3 separate regions of the Homo sapiens genome follow, and regions 1 and 2 are each linked to region 3. Evidence: promoter capture Hi-C in 16 types of primary human blood cells and fetal thymus (Javierre and others, 2016). All regions are on one chromosome and are shown on one strand. Each heading gives the region's core, a stretch centred on a gene start or on the middle of the fragment in contact. The rest is flanking DNA. Distances are from core to core; before and after follow the strand shown.

Region 1 (3,898 bases), core at 679-3,178, 340 kb after region 3:
TTCCTTCCTTCCTCCTTCCTTCCTTCCTTCCTTCCTTCCTTCCTTCCTTCTTTCCTTCCTTCCTTCCTTCCTTCCTTCCTTCCTTCCAGTGGCATGATCTTGGCTCATTGTAAATTTTGCCTAATGGGTTCAAGCGATTCTTATGCCTCAGTCTCCTGAGTAGCTGGAACTACAGGCGCACACCACCATGCCTGGCTAATTTTTTGTATTTTTAGTAGAGATAAGGTTTCACCATATTGGCCAGGCTGGTCTCGAACTCTTGACCTCAGGTGATCCACCCACCTCGGCTTCCCAAAATGCTGGGATTACAGGCATGAGCCACTGCCCCCAGACTGATTTCTTTCTTTCTTTCTTTCTTTTTTTTTTTGGTCAGGGGGACAGAGTCTTGCTCTGTCACCCAGGCTGGAGCTTAGTGGTGCACTCTCAGCTCACCACAACCTCCGCCTCCCGAGTTCAAGCAATTCTCCTGCCTCAGCCTCCCGAGTAGCTGGGATTACAGGCGTGCACCACCACGCCTGGCTAATTTTTTTGTATCTTTATTAGAGATAAAGTTTTGCTATGTTGGCCAGGCTGGTCTCAAACTCCTGATCTCAAGTGAACTGTCTGCCTCAGCCTCCCAAAATGTTAGGATTACAGGCACGAGCTACTGCACCTGTCCTCAAAGTTCATTTCATAGTTGTAACAACATAGTTGGTTGTGCTGTGGTTAGGTAAAACGTTAGGAGACACAGAGTGTGGGGTGTATGGGAACTCCGTACTGTCCATGCGTTTCCTGTAAGCCTAAATTCCAAATTCAGAAGTTTATTTATAAACATTTAGTCGGGCACGGTGGCATGTGCCTATAATCCCAGCTACTCTGGAGGCTGAAGCATGAGGATTGCTTGAACCCAGGAGTTCAAGACCAGGTTGGGCAATGTAGCAAGACCTCATCTCTAAAAAAATAAAAATTAAGAAATAAAAAAGCAAGTTAATTAAAATAAAAAAATTAGAACAGAGGCAGGGCAAAGTGGCTTACCCCTATAATCCCAGCACTATGGGAGGCTGAGGGAGGAGGATCTCTTGAGGCCGGGAGTTTGAGACCAGCCTGAACAATATAGGGAGACATTGTGTCTACAATAAATAAATAAATAAATAAATAAATAAATAGCCAGGTGTAGTGGTGTGTGCCTGTAGTCTCAGATACTTGAGAGGCTGAGACAGGAGGATCACCTGAGCCCAGAAAGCTGCAGTGAGCTGTGATTGCATGCCTGCACTCCAGCCTGGGTGACAGAGCGACACCCTGTTGCAAGAAAAACAGAAAAAGAAAAAAGAAAAAAAAAAAGAAAGAAAATCTTTTTTTTTTTTTTGAGATGGAGTCTTGCTCTATCACCCAGGCTGGAGTGCAGTGGCGCAATCTTGGCTCACTGCAAGCTCCGCCTCCCGGGTTCACGCCATTCTCCTGCCTCAGCCTCCGGAGTAGCTGGGACTACATGCCCGGCTAATTTTTTGCATTTTTTAGTAGAGATGGGGTTTCACCGTGTTAGCCAGGATGGTCTCAATCTCCTGACCTCGTGATCTGCCTGTCTCGGCCTCCCAGAGTGCTGGGATTACAGGCATGAGCCACCTCGCCCTGACAGAAAAGCTTTTTTAAAAAAGGAACTTGGCCATTTTCAAACTGTTGCTTTGAAAGCAAGGACGTGTCCACACTTGTTCACAAAGCTTTCCTTGCAAAGGAGGGTGTTTAGTTTGGCCAGCACTGGACGTACCAAGGTCTCCTTGGCAACCGCACGCTTGCAGTTCATTTGTGCCTGCTCGCCATGGGGAGGCTGGGCAGAACAGCTCAGTTCAGGTAGGCAAAGCTGACCCTGTGGAAGGCTGGGGTGACAGGGAGACAAAGACAACTCGGAACAGTCCCTGCCTCCCTGAATTCTTTAGCACCGAGAGAAAGACACATAGATTCTTAAGACAAGTGGTGAGAGGCCAGCAGTACTCAATGTGACTGGAGGAAGAAAGGGGGAGGAACAATGAGTTAGAGGAGCAGGAAAGGAAAAGGGGTCAGGAGCCAGCCTCTGGAAGGAGCTTGTGCTTCTGGAGGGACCGCCGTCTCCCGATGTGCGTGTGGAGGATGTTGACAGCATCCGCGTCAGAGGACGGGCATGGGCATTAAACAGAAAAGCTTGACCATTTCATCAGCTCTCAGTGCTGATGCTTCCATAGTGCCTTTGACATTGAACTATGTCTCATGATCAATGGTGGGCAGAGTGGAATTTCCAGCACTGCTTCTTTCTTAGTAATAAATATACAAACCATAACGATCATGCATCTTTTTCCTTTTCTTTTCTTTTTTACCCAAAGAGCCACTTGATTTTTTTTTTTTTTTTGAGACAGAATCTCATTCTGTTGCCTAGGCTGGAGTGCAGTGGCGTTATCTCGGCTCACTGCAACCACCACCTCCCAGGTTCAAGCAATTCTCCTGCCCCAGCCTCCCGAGTAGCTGGGATTACAGGTGCGTGTCACCACATCTGGGTAATTTTTGTATTTTTAGTAGAGAGGGGGTTTCACCATGTTGGCCAGGCTGGTCTCGAACTCCTGGCCTCAGGTGATCTACCCGCCTTGGCCTCCCAAAGTGCTGGGATTACAGGCATGAGCCACTTCGCCCGGCCCAGATTTTTTTTTTTTTAAAGACAGCATCCCAATCTGGCACCCAGGCTAGAGTGCAGTGGCTCCATCACAGCTCACTGCAGCCTCAAACTCCTGGGTTCAAGTGATCCTCCCACCTCAGCCTCCCCAGTAGCTGGGACTACAGGTGGGCGTCACCACACCCAGCTCATTTTTTTAATTTTATAGAGACGGGATCTTGTTATATTACCCAGACCGGTATCAAACTCCTGGCCTCCAGCAATCCTCCTGCCTTGGCCTCCCAAAGCACTGGGAATACAGGTGTTAGCCACTGTGCCCGGCCTCATCTTTTAACCAAATGGGACTTTGGTGCAATGAATCATTCTCATAAGCAGCAAGGAGGCAGCCCTCAAGTTAAGCTGAGACTCCAAAGATGTTCATCAGTTTCCACAGGGAAATGTGCAGGCAGAAACATCCCCGGTTAGCCAGGGATAGCGCTGCATGTCTGTAGTTTCAGCTCCTCAGAAGGCTGAGACAGGAGGATCCCTTGAGCCCAGAAGCTCAAGGTTGCAGTGAGCTGTGAGATCACACCACTGCACTTTTTCACTTTTTCTTTTTTTTTTTTTTTGAGATGAAGTCTTGCTCTGTCATCCACTGGACCTCATCTGAAAAAAAAAAAAAAATTCCCTAGCCAGGGATTGGTACAAGGAGACAGCATTAGGGGCTCCTACTGTTTTGGGACTGTGCCAAACAGGTACACCATCAGCGTTCTAGAAAAAGGCATGTCCAACCTCCATGCCCATCCCCCATATCGCAAAGCCCTCTTATACTCCTCCTGAAGCCCAGTACGAAGAGGGCCAGGAAGCTCTGAAGGCAAGACAAAAACAGCAGCAACAACAACAGACAGTTAAATGACATGTCCAAGGTCACACTGCAAGGGACACAGCGATGAATCTGTGTTCAAAAGCATTCACTCCTACTCACTTTTCTACACCACCTGCCATGCTAACCAAGCACGGTGCACATGGCTGTAACCCCTCCATCTGCCTTTTTTTTTTTTTTTTTTGAGACGGAGTCTCACTCTGTCACCCAGGCTGGAGTACAGTGGCTTGATCTCAGCTCACTGCAATCTCTGCTTCCCAAGTTCTGGCGATTCTCCTGCCTCAGCCTCCTGAGTAGCTGGGACTACAGGCATGAGCCACCACGCCCGGCTAATTTTTATATTTTTAGTAGAGACAGAGTTTCATCATGTTGCCTAGGCTAGTCTCGAGTTTCTGACCTCAAGCGATCTGCCCGCCTTT
Region 2 (3,739 bases), core at 870-3,369, 280 kb after region 3:
GAATAAATGGGGTGCCCCCTGCTCCCAGCTTGGCAAAGAGGCCAAGAAAAATCCTGCATCAAAAGGAAAGAAAGGGCTGGGCGCAATGGCTCACGCCTGTGTAATCCCAGCACTTTGGGAGGCTAAGGTGGGCGAATCACCTGAGGTCAGGAATTCGAGACCAGCCTGGCCAACATGGTGAAACTCCGTCTGTACTAAAAATACAAAAATTAGCTGGGTGTGGTGGTGTGTGCCTGTAATCCCAGCTATTCAGGAAGCTGACGTGGGAGGATCGTTTGAGCCCAGAAATTCAAGGCTGCAATGAATTATGATTGAGCCACTCCACTCCAGTCTGGGTGACACAGCAAGACCCTATTTAAAAAAAAAAGAAAAATAATAGAAAAATAGTGTCTATGCTAGTTTATGTACCACAACTGCAGAGTTGAGTCTTTGCAACTGAGGTTGTCTCGTCTGGACTGCAAAAAATGTTTACTATGAGGCCATTTGGCAGAAAACGTTGCTAACCTCTGGCCCTAGGACTTCTCTCTGTTCCCAAGCCCCACCCCCTTCTCCAACCTGATCCTGATTAGCTTCCTCACTACTCCAAATGAGAGCTAAACGCTACCTGCGGCGAGGAGGGACTCATCTTCAGAGACCACCAGGAACCTCACAGCATCTGGAAGCTTCTCCAGCAATCTGTCCCCTTTGGAGGAAACCTGTGCAGAACCAGGGATGCCTGTCAGGCACTTCCACGGGTTAAGGGTTACAAGTCTGGAATTTTTTAATTTTTTAATTTTTATTTTTTTTGTTTTTGAGATGGAGTCTCACTCTGTCTCCCAGGCAGGAGTGCGGTGGTATGATCTTGGCTCACTGCAACCTCCGCCTCCCGGGTTCAAGCAATTCCCCTGCCTCAGCCTCCCAAGTAGCTGGGATTACAGGCACCTGCCACCATGCCCGGCTAATTTTTGTATTTTTAGTAGAGATGGGGTTTCACCATGTGGGCCAAGCTGGTCTCAAACTCTTGATCTCAGGTGATCCGCCCACCTTGGCCTCCCAAAGTGCTGGGATTACAGGCGTGAGCCACCATGCCTAGCTGACTCCATCTCTTAATAAAAATTTTAGCTGGGCATGGTGGTACACCCCTGTGGTCCCAGCTACTCAGGAGGCTCAAGCAGGAGGATCACTTGTGCCCCTAGGAGTTGGAGGCTGCAGTGAGCTATGATTGTGCCACTGCATTGCAGCCAGGGTGACAGACTGAGACTCTGTCTCTAAAAAATTTTTTAAATTAAAAACATAAAAGTTGGCCAGGTGTGGCGGCTCATGCTTGTAATCCCAGCACTTTGGGAGACCGAAGTGGGTGGATCACTCGAGGTCAGGAGTTTGAGACTATCCTGGCCAACATGGTGAAACCCCATCTCTACTAAAAATACAAAAATTAGCCGGGCGTGGTGGCACATGCCCGTAGTCCCAGCTACTGGGGAGGCGGAGGCAGGAGAATCGCTTGAAGCTGGGAGGTGGAGGTTTCAGTGAGCCGAGATTGCGCCACTGCATTCCAGTCTGGGCGACAGAGCAAGACTCAGTCTCAAAAAAAAAAACAACCAAAAACCAAAAAACAAAAAAACAGTTAAAAAAAAAAGGTAAAAAACAAATTCTGGCCAGGTACAGTGGGTCACGCCTGTAATCCCAGCACTTTGGAAGGCTGAATGAGCCCATAAGTTTGAAACCAGCCTAGGCAACATAGTGAGACCCCCACCTCTACAAAATAATAATAATAATAATTAGCCAGGCATGGGGGCATGCGCCTGTAGTCCCAGCTACTCAGGAGGCTGAGGCGAGAGGACGTCTTGAGCCCGGGAGGTCGAGGCTGCAGGGAGCCATGATCGTGCCACTGCACTCCCGCCTGAGAGATAAAGTAAGACCCTGTCTCAAAAAACAAAACAAAATATCTGCAAAGAGGCTTGAGAAAAAGAAAAACAACCCCAAGGATTTGGGAGTATCTTTCGTTGTTGTATTTGGTACCTTGAGAACTCATGAAGACCACAGGTCATGAGGTTCAGAAATGTGGAGCTTTGGGATTTGGGATGATTCTTCTTCTTCTTTTCTTTTCTTTTTTTTTTTATTTTTTAATTTTTTTGAGACAGGGCCTGGCTCTGTCACTCAGGCTGGAGTGCAGTGGTGCAATCTTGGCTCACTGCAGCCTCCACCTCCTAAGCTCAAATGATCCTCCCACATCAGCCTCTCAAGTAGCTGGGAGTACAAGTATGCACCACCATGATTCCTTTCTTTTTTTTTTTTTTTTTTTGAGATGGAGTTTTGATCTGTCACCCAGGCTGGAGTGCAATGGCATGATCTCGGCTCACTGCAACCTCCACCTCCCGGGTTCAAGTGATTCTCCTGCCTCAGCCTCCCTAGTAGCAGGGATCACAGGCACCCACCACCACACCCGGCTAATTTTTGGGCTTTTGTTTTTGTTGCTGTTGTTTTTTGTTTTGTTCTGAGATGGAGTTTTGCTCTTAATGTCCAGGCTGGAGTGCAGTGGTGCAATCTTGGCTCACTGCATCCTCCACCTCCTAGGTTCAAGCAATTCTCCTGCCTCAGCCTCCCAAGTAGTTGGGATTACAGGTGCTCACCACCACGCCCGGCTAATTTTTTGTATGCTTTTTTAGTAGAGATGAGGTTTCTTCATGTTGGCCAGGCTGGTCTCGAACTCCCAACCTCAGGTGATCCACCTGCCCCGGCCTCCCAAAGTGCTGGCATTACAGGTGTGAGCCACCGTGCCTGGTCAATTTTTGTACTTTTAGTAAAGACAGGGTTTTGCCATGTTGGCCAGGCTGGTCTCGAACTCCTGACCTCAAATGATCCACCCCCCCTCAGCCTCCCAAAGTGCTGGGATTACAGGAGTGAGACACAGCGCCCAGCCAGTCTATATGTTAATGTCCATGAAAGCAGCCGTCCACCAACCACCAACAGGGCAGGTGGATAGAGCCCAACTCCTAGTCCCTCTGTGGCGCAACTCTCAACCTCATTCCACACCATGTCTTAGAGATCCCCTGAAGGACTGAGCTTCAACAATTGCCCACATTGGTCAGTCCCCAAGAGACGCCAACAGATGTTTCCTGAACTGTGCTGAACTGCAAATCCCTACGATTAAGAAGCCAAGCGTGTGGCCGGGCACGGTGGCTCATGCCTGTAATCCCAGTACTCTGGGAGGCCGAGGTGGGCAGATCATCTGAGGTTGGGAGTTTGAGACCAGCCTGACCAACATGGAGAAACCCTGTCTCTACTAAAAACACAAAATTAGCCAGGCGTGGTGGCACTTGCCTGTAATCCCAGCTACTCGGAAGGCTGAGGCAGTGAGAATCGCTTGAACCCGAGAGGCGGAGGTTGCAGTGAGCTGAGATTACACCATTGCACTCCAGCCTGGGCAACAAAAGTGAAACTTCATCTCCAAAACAAAACAAAGATACAAGGCAAGATTATTTTTCCCAACTTCTAGCACATCTGAGCACTTTCAAGCTGAGTTAATGTTCACATCATAGTCAGTAAAGGTGCTTACCAAAGAGATGGAGCCATTGCTAAACCCGGTAACAAGCTTTCCTTGCTTCTGGACTGAGACGGCACAGGTAGGTGTTTCTTCTTTGATGCTGGACATATGTTGCTTCCCCTGAAGTTTTCCCGTAGCTGAGCTCCACAGACTGACCACACCATCCCTGGACACTGTCAGCAGTGTGGCCTGGGAGGCCAGCACGGCCATGCACAT
Region 3 (3,623 bases), core at 1,007-3,506:
AAGACGGTGATGAGAAGAGTTGGGTTTCAAGGTTGAAAAACGCTGATGGAGGTCAATTCATTCATTTTGCAGGTGAGAGGTCAGAAACAGGCACAGAGACTTGACCAAAGCCAGGATCTCCAACACAGTGCTCCCCCCACAAGACCCTGCTTGGCCATTCTCTAGCGGCAGGGAAGAGGCGATTGCAGGGCTGCGGGATCAGAAGATCCCGGTCCTGTTCTGTAGGCCAGTGCAAGCCTACAGTTCAATGTTTGCAGGAGGCATGACTGTGGGCTGTCACTGCATGTCCTGGGGCAAGCCAGGCCAAAGCCACCTTTCCTAAAGGCCAGGATATTCTGGAAGTGAAGGGGGTGCTTATCTTTCTGTGGCCCTCTTTATATTCCAGCTATCCGGGTTCATCTCCTGAATGAGCTATAAACTAAACATAAGCTGGGGTTCCCCAGCCCTTCTGGCAGATCCCAGATAAAGATCCCTACAGTTGGGAAAGGGGAGAAATGAATGCCAATCAAAAGCACCCTGCACAAAGTCCCTGCCAGGGCCACAAGAGCCAGGCCTGTCAGATGTGAATAACTTTCCTGTAGCCCAGGTCACCTCCGGCTGCTCCTGGACACCTTAAGATTCTGAAGACTCCAACATCAAAAAACAAACCGAGTTGGGACTCTCTGGCTGGAAAGTGTCCCCACGGGCTCCCACCTCAGACAAAGAGGCAGAGAAGCCATCCCTTAAAGACCCCTGGCCTCCAGGGTGCCCAGGAAAGAAAGGAGGGCTCGTGGCTGTCGTGCCTCTCCAGGGCTGAGCTCAGAGCAACCGGGGGACAGATTTCCTGTATGTCGTTTTACCCATTTAAGTCCAAGGATGCAGCTCTGCGGAGGTGGCGACAGTCCTGTACATGAGGGTGCATGCACACTCCCTCCTGAAACACAGTTCCGGCCCCACAACCGGCCCTGAGGTCCCTTCCTTGGATCCAGGGAATCCCAGAATCCTGCTAGTCCTGTCTTAAGGGGAGGGTGGTGAAGTTTCCAAGACGAGGACACTGGCACAGAGGGTGTTGGGACTCGTCCCAGGTCACCCAGCTGTTAAGTGTGAAGTCAGGAGGGACACGAATCAAGAGGGGAGGGTGGGGGGACGGAATCTCCAGGGGCTGCATCTCAACATCTATCTGCACGGGGCCACTCTAACCCCTTCCTTCTCTTCCCTCCTCTCCGGGCCCTCCCTCCCTAAGCCTACCCTCAGTTCTTACCGTGACTTCTACTCCGTTTACTTCCCTTCCAGCTCCCATTTCCCCGCTTCCCAATAGCCGGCTGCCGCATCAGTTAGTTCAGAACCCCCCGCATTTACTGAGCGCCCACTGGGGGCCAGGCGCCGCCCTCTTCTCAGACACCCTTCCTTCAATCGCGCGGGCAGACGTCCCCAGATCGGTCTCGCACCCCTTCCCCTCAACCGCACCCCGGCTGTCCCGCCCCTGGCCTTGCCCACTCCCCCAGCCTGGGCCTCTCGTTCCCGCCTCCGTGCCTCCCCACAACGCCGTTTCCTGCGACCCCCCAATTACCACTTAAGCCACGTCCTCTTCAGAGAAGCTGCTCAAAGCCACAAGACTCACCCCCCCCACGCCCTCGAACTCCCTCACCAGCTCCATCCCCATCCACTTTCTCCTTCACCGTCTCGCTTCCACCTCATCCCCAGCAATCTCTCCAAGACCCCCAGGCTCGTTCCCGCCCCCTCGACCCCTGCCGTCGCGTCCCCCATCAGCCCTCAGCTCCGTCCCTCTTCTGCGCAGCCCCCAAAGGCAGGCTTCGAGCTCGAGTCGCCAACCCGAGGCTGCCTGGTACTCACCTGGCCTCGGCCGCCGCGCGCCGCCGGTCCCGGGCCGGGTCCCCGGCCGGACGACCGCCTGCCAGCCCGCCGCTGCTCGAGCCGCTCCGCCCCGCCGCGCCCGCCGCTCCCCCGCGCGCTCCCGCTTCCGGGTTCCGGAGAGGCGGGGACGGGGGCGTGACGCCAGCGCTCCTAGGGGCGGGGCATCGCGAAAAGCCCCGCCCCTACTGTCCGACAGATCAGGTCCCACCCACCGCCCCTACCCACTACCGCCGATGGTGGGCGAGACCAAGTGCGAGGGGAGGACAGGCGAAGCGCGCGTCTGGGGCCGCGCTCTCCACACTTAGCCGGCGCTGCCTCACGCCTCGCAGCCACCCCTCCTGCGTCTCCACAAATGGTCCGACCCGCAAGCAAGGGGGCGGGTCCGGCTTTGAAAAGCCGGCGGGTCGGGCCTTGAGGTGGAAGGCGGGAAAATGGCGGATTCCTCGGGGCGAGGCGCTGGGTGAGTTGGGGCTTCCGCAGGTCTGGATTTGTAGACGCCATAGGGCTGGAGAGGATGGGCAGCGGAGGTGGGGAGTTAGGACCCTCGGGGTGAGTTCGGGTTCGACCCCGCCAGGAACTGCGCGGGCCCCTGAAGACCCCGATGGCGTGCTGCCTCTGCGCATGCTCCGGAGCGCTGACACCCGACCGGCCCTGAGTTCCGCGTCCTCGGCTGGGACGCTGGGCGACCTCCGGCAAGCGGCCTGACCGCCCAGTGCCTCGCTTTCCTCCGCTACGAAATGGGGCCGATGACGCAGCTCAACCTCGTAGGCGTCGCGTGAGGCTGAAACGCGCTTAGATCGGCGCCTGGGTCTTTACTGTGATGTCGCTCTTGGAATTATCGTTATGCAGTGAACAAGTGTTGGGCGACCAAAGTGTCCCCTTTAATCCTCCCACGCGCTTTATTCTGTGCTCCCAGTTTACTGAGGAGATGATGGAGACCCAGGGAGGGGAAGTGACTTGCCTAGGGTAACACACCATGAACAAGAAAGAAGTTGAATACTGACCGAGAGCTAGGCATGAATGATCATGAGGCTATATTTGTCTAGTTTTGTTAATTCTGCCAGTGTTGATTGTGCCAGGTGCAAACTGAAGTGAAATTGGCCAGCAAGAGGAATCACTCCACCGCCCCTTGCCGTAACCGATAGATTGACAGTAGCACCTCCCAGGTACAGGTGCAGTAGCTGAGGCTCGCACAGGTTGTAGGGACCCCCCTCAGGTCGCAGCAGGTTCACCCAGGAGCCCATTCGGTTTGAGGCCACAGCCCTAGCACAGTCCCCAGAGGGAGTCTGTGCTCTTGTCTCTTTCTGGCTGTGAGACTGCCCCGGGGGTGACCTATGTAAAACCTGTGCGTCTTTGTTTTGCAGCGACGAAAAAGCAGGTGTGAACAGTTAGGAAGCTGTCGGGTTAGGAGGAGCCTACGGGCGAGCGCAGCTGCTGGCACCTGGCGAACATTTGCTAAGTTGCCTCTCCCCACGGTGGCCTGGAAGTGTCCCCAACATTGTCTGGGTCTCACTTTGGGGTCCTGGGAGCCTGCTTCAGAGGAGGTGGCCGCAGGGACCAGTGGAGCCGCCTTTGGTGATGGGAGCAGGAGTTACAGTGCCCTGGCCTTGGCCCTGCCCCTCCACTTGCCCATCCACTTGCCCCTCCTGTGTTGCTGGTGTCTGTTCTTGGATCCCTTCTTTTCTCACCAGCTCAGGCTGAAACCCTGAAACCCCTAGTCATCCCAGATTCTCCCTCTCCTGCACCCCCACAGCTGATGAGTCAGCGAT

The links. The method cuts DNA at HindIII sites, captures the fragments that hold promoters and counts their contacts. A CHiCAGO score of 5 or more calls a contact.
Region 1: a contact is called between a fragment that was not itself captured here and the fragment with the promoter of HAUS8 in region 3, in 1 of 17 cell types (endothelial precursors). The highest score is 5.9, in endothelial precursors.
Region 2: a contact is called between a fragment that was not itself captured here and the fragment with the promoter of HAUS8 in region 3, in 2 of 17 cell types (M0 macrophages and monocytes). The highest score is 6.1, in M0 macrophages.

What each region holds. Positions count from the first base shown.
Region 1 is chr19:16,731,982-16,735,879 of GRCh38, reverse strand. The region is part of intron 3 of NWD1 (NACHT and WD repeat domain containing 1); the gene reads right to left. Among named protein-coding and RNA genes, the nearest start is that of NWD1, 14 kb to the right of the region's middle. The HindIII fragment of the contact is 457 bases long and covers 1,700-2,156 here.
Region 2 is chr19:16,791,419-16,795,157 of GRCh38, reverse strand. It overlaps NWD1 (NACHT and WD repeat domain containing 1), which reads right to left. Exons shown (of 19, transcript NM_001007525.5): 14 at 3,536-3,739; 15 at 605-695. Among named protein-coding and RNA genes, the nearest start is that of SIN3B, 36 kb to the left of the region's middle. The HindIII fragment of the contact is 2,909 bases long and covers 665-3,573 here.
Region 3 is chr19:17,074,085-17,077,707 of GRCh38, reverse strand. It overlaps HAUS8 (HAUS augmin like complex subunit 8), which reads left to right and starts at 2,256. Exons shown (of 11, transcript NM_033417.2): 1 at 2,256-2,314. The coding sequence starts at 2,286. It overlaps MYO9B (myosin IXB), which reads right to left and starts at 1,931. Exons shown (of 40, transcript NM_004145.4): 1 at 1,834-1,931. RefSeq lists silencers at 1,495-1,789, 1,784-2,133 and an enhancer at 2,314-2,513. The HindIII fragment of the contact is 21,850 bases long and covers 1-3,623 here.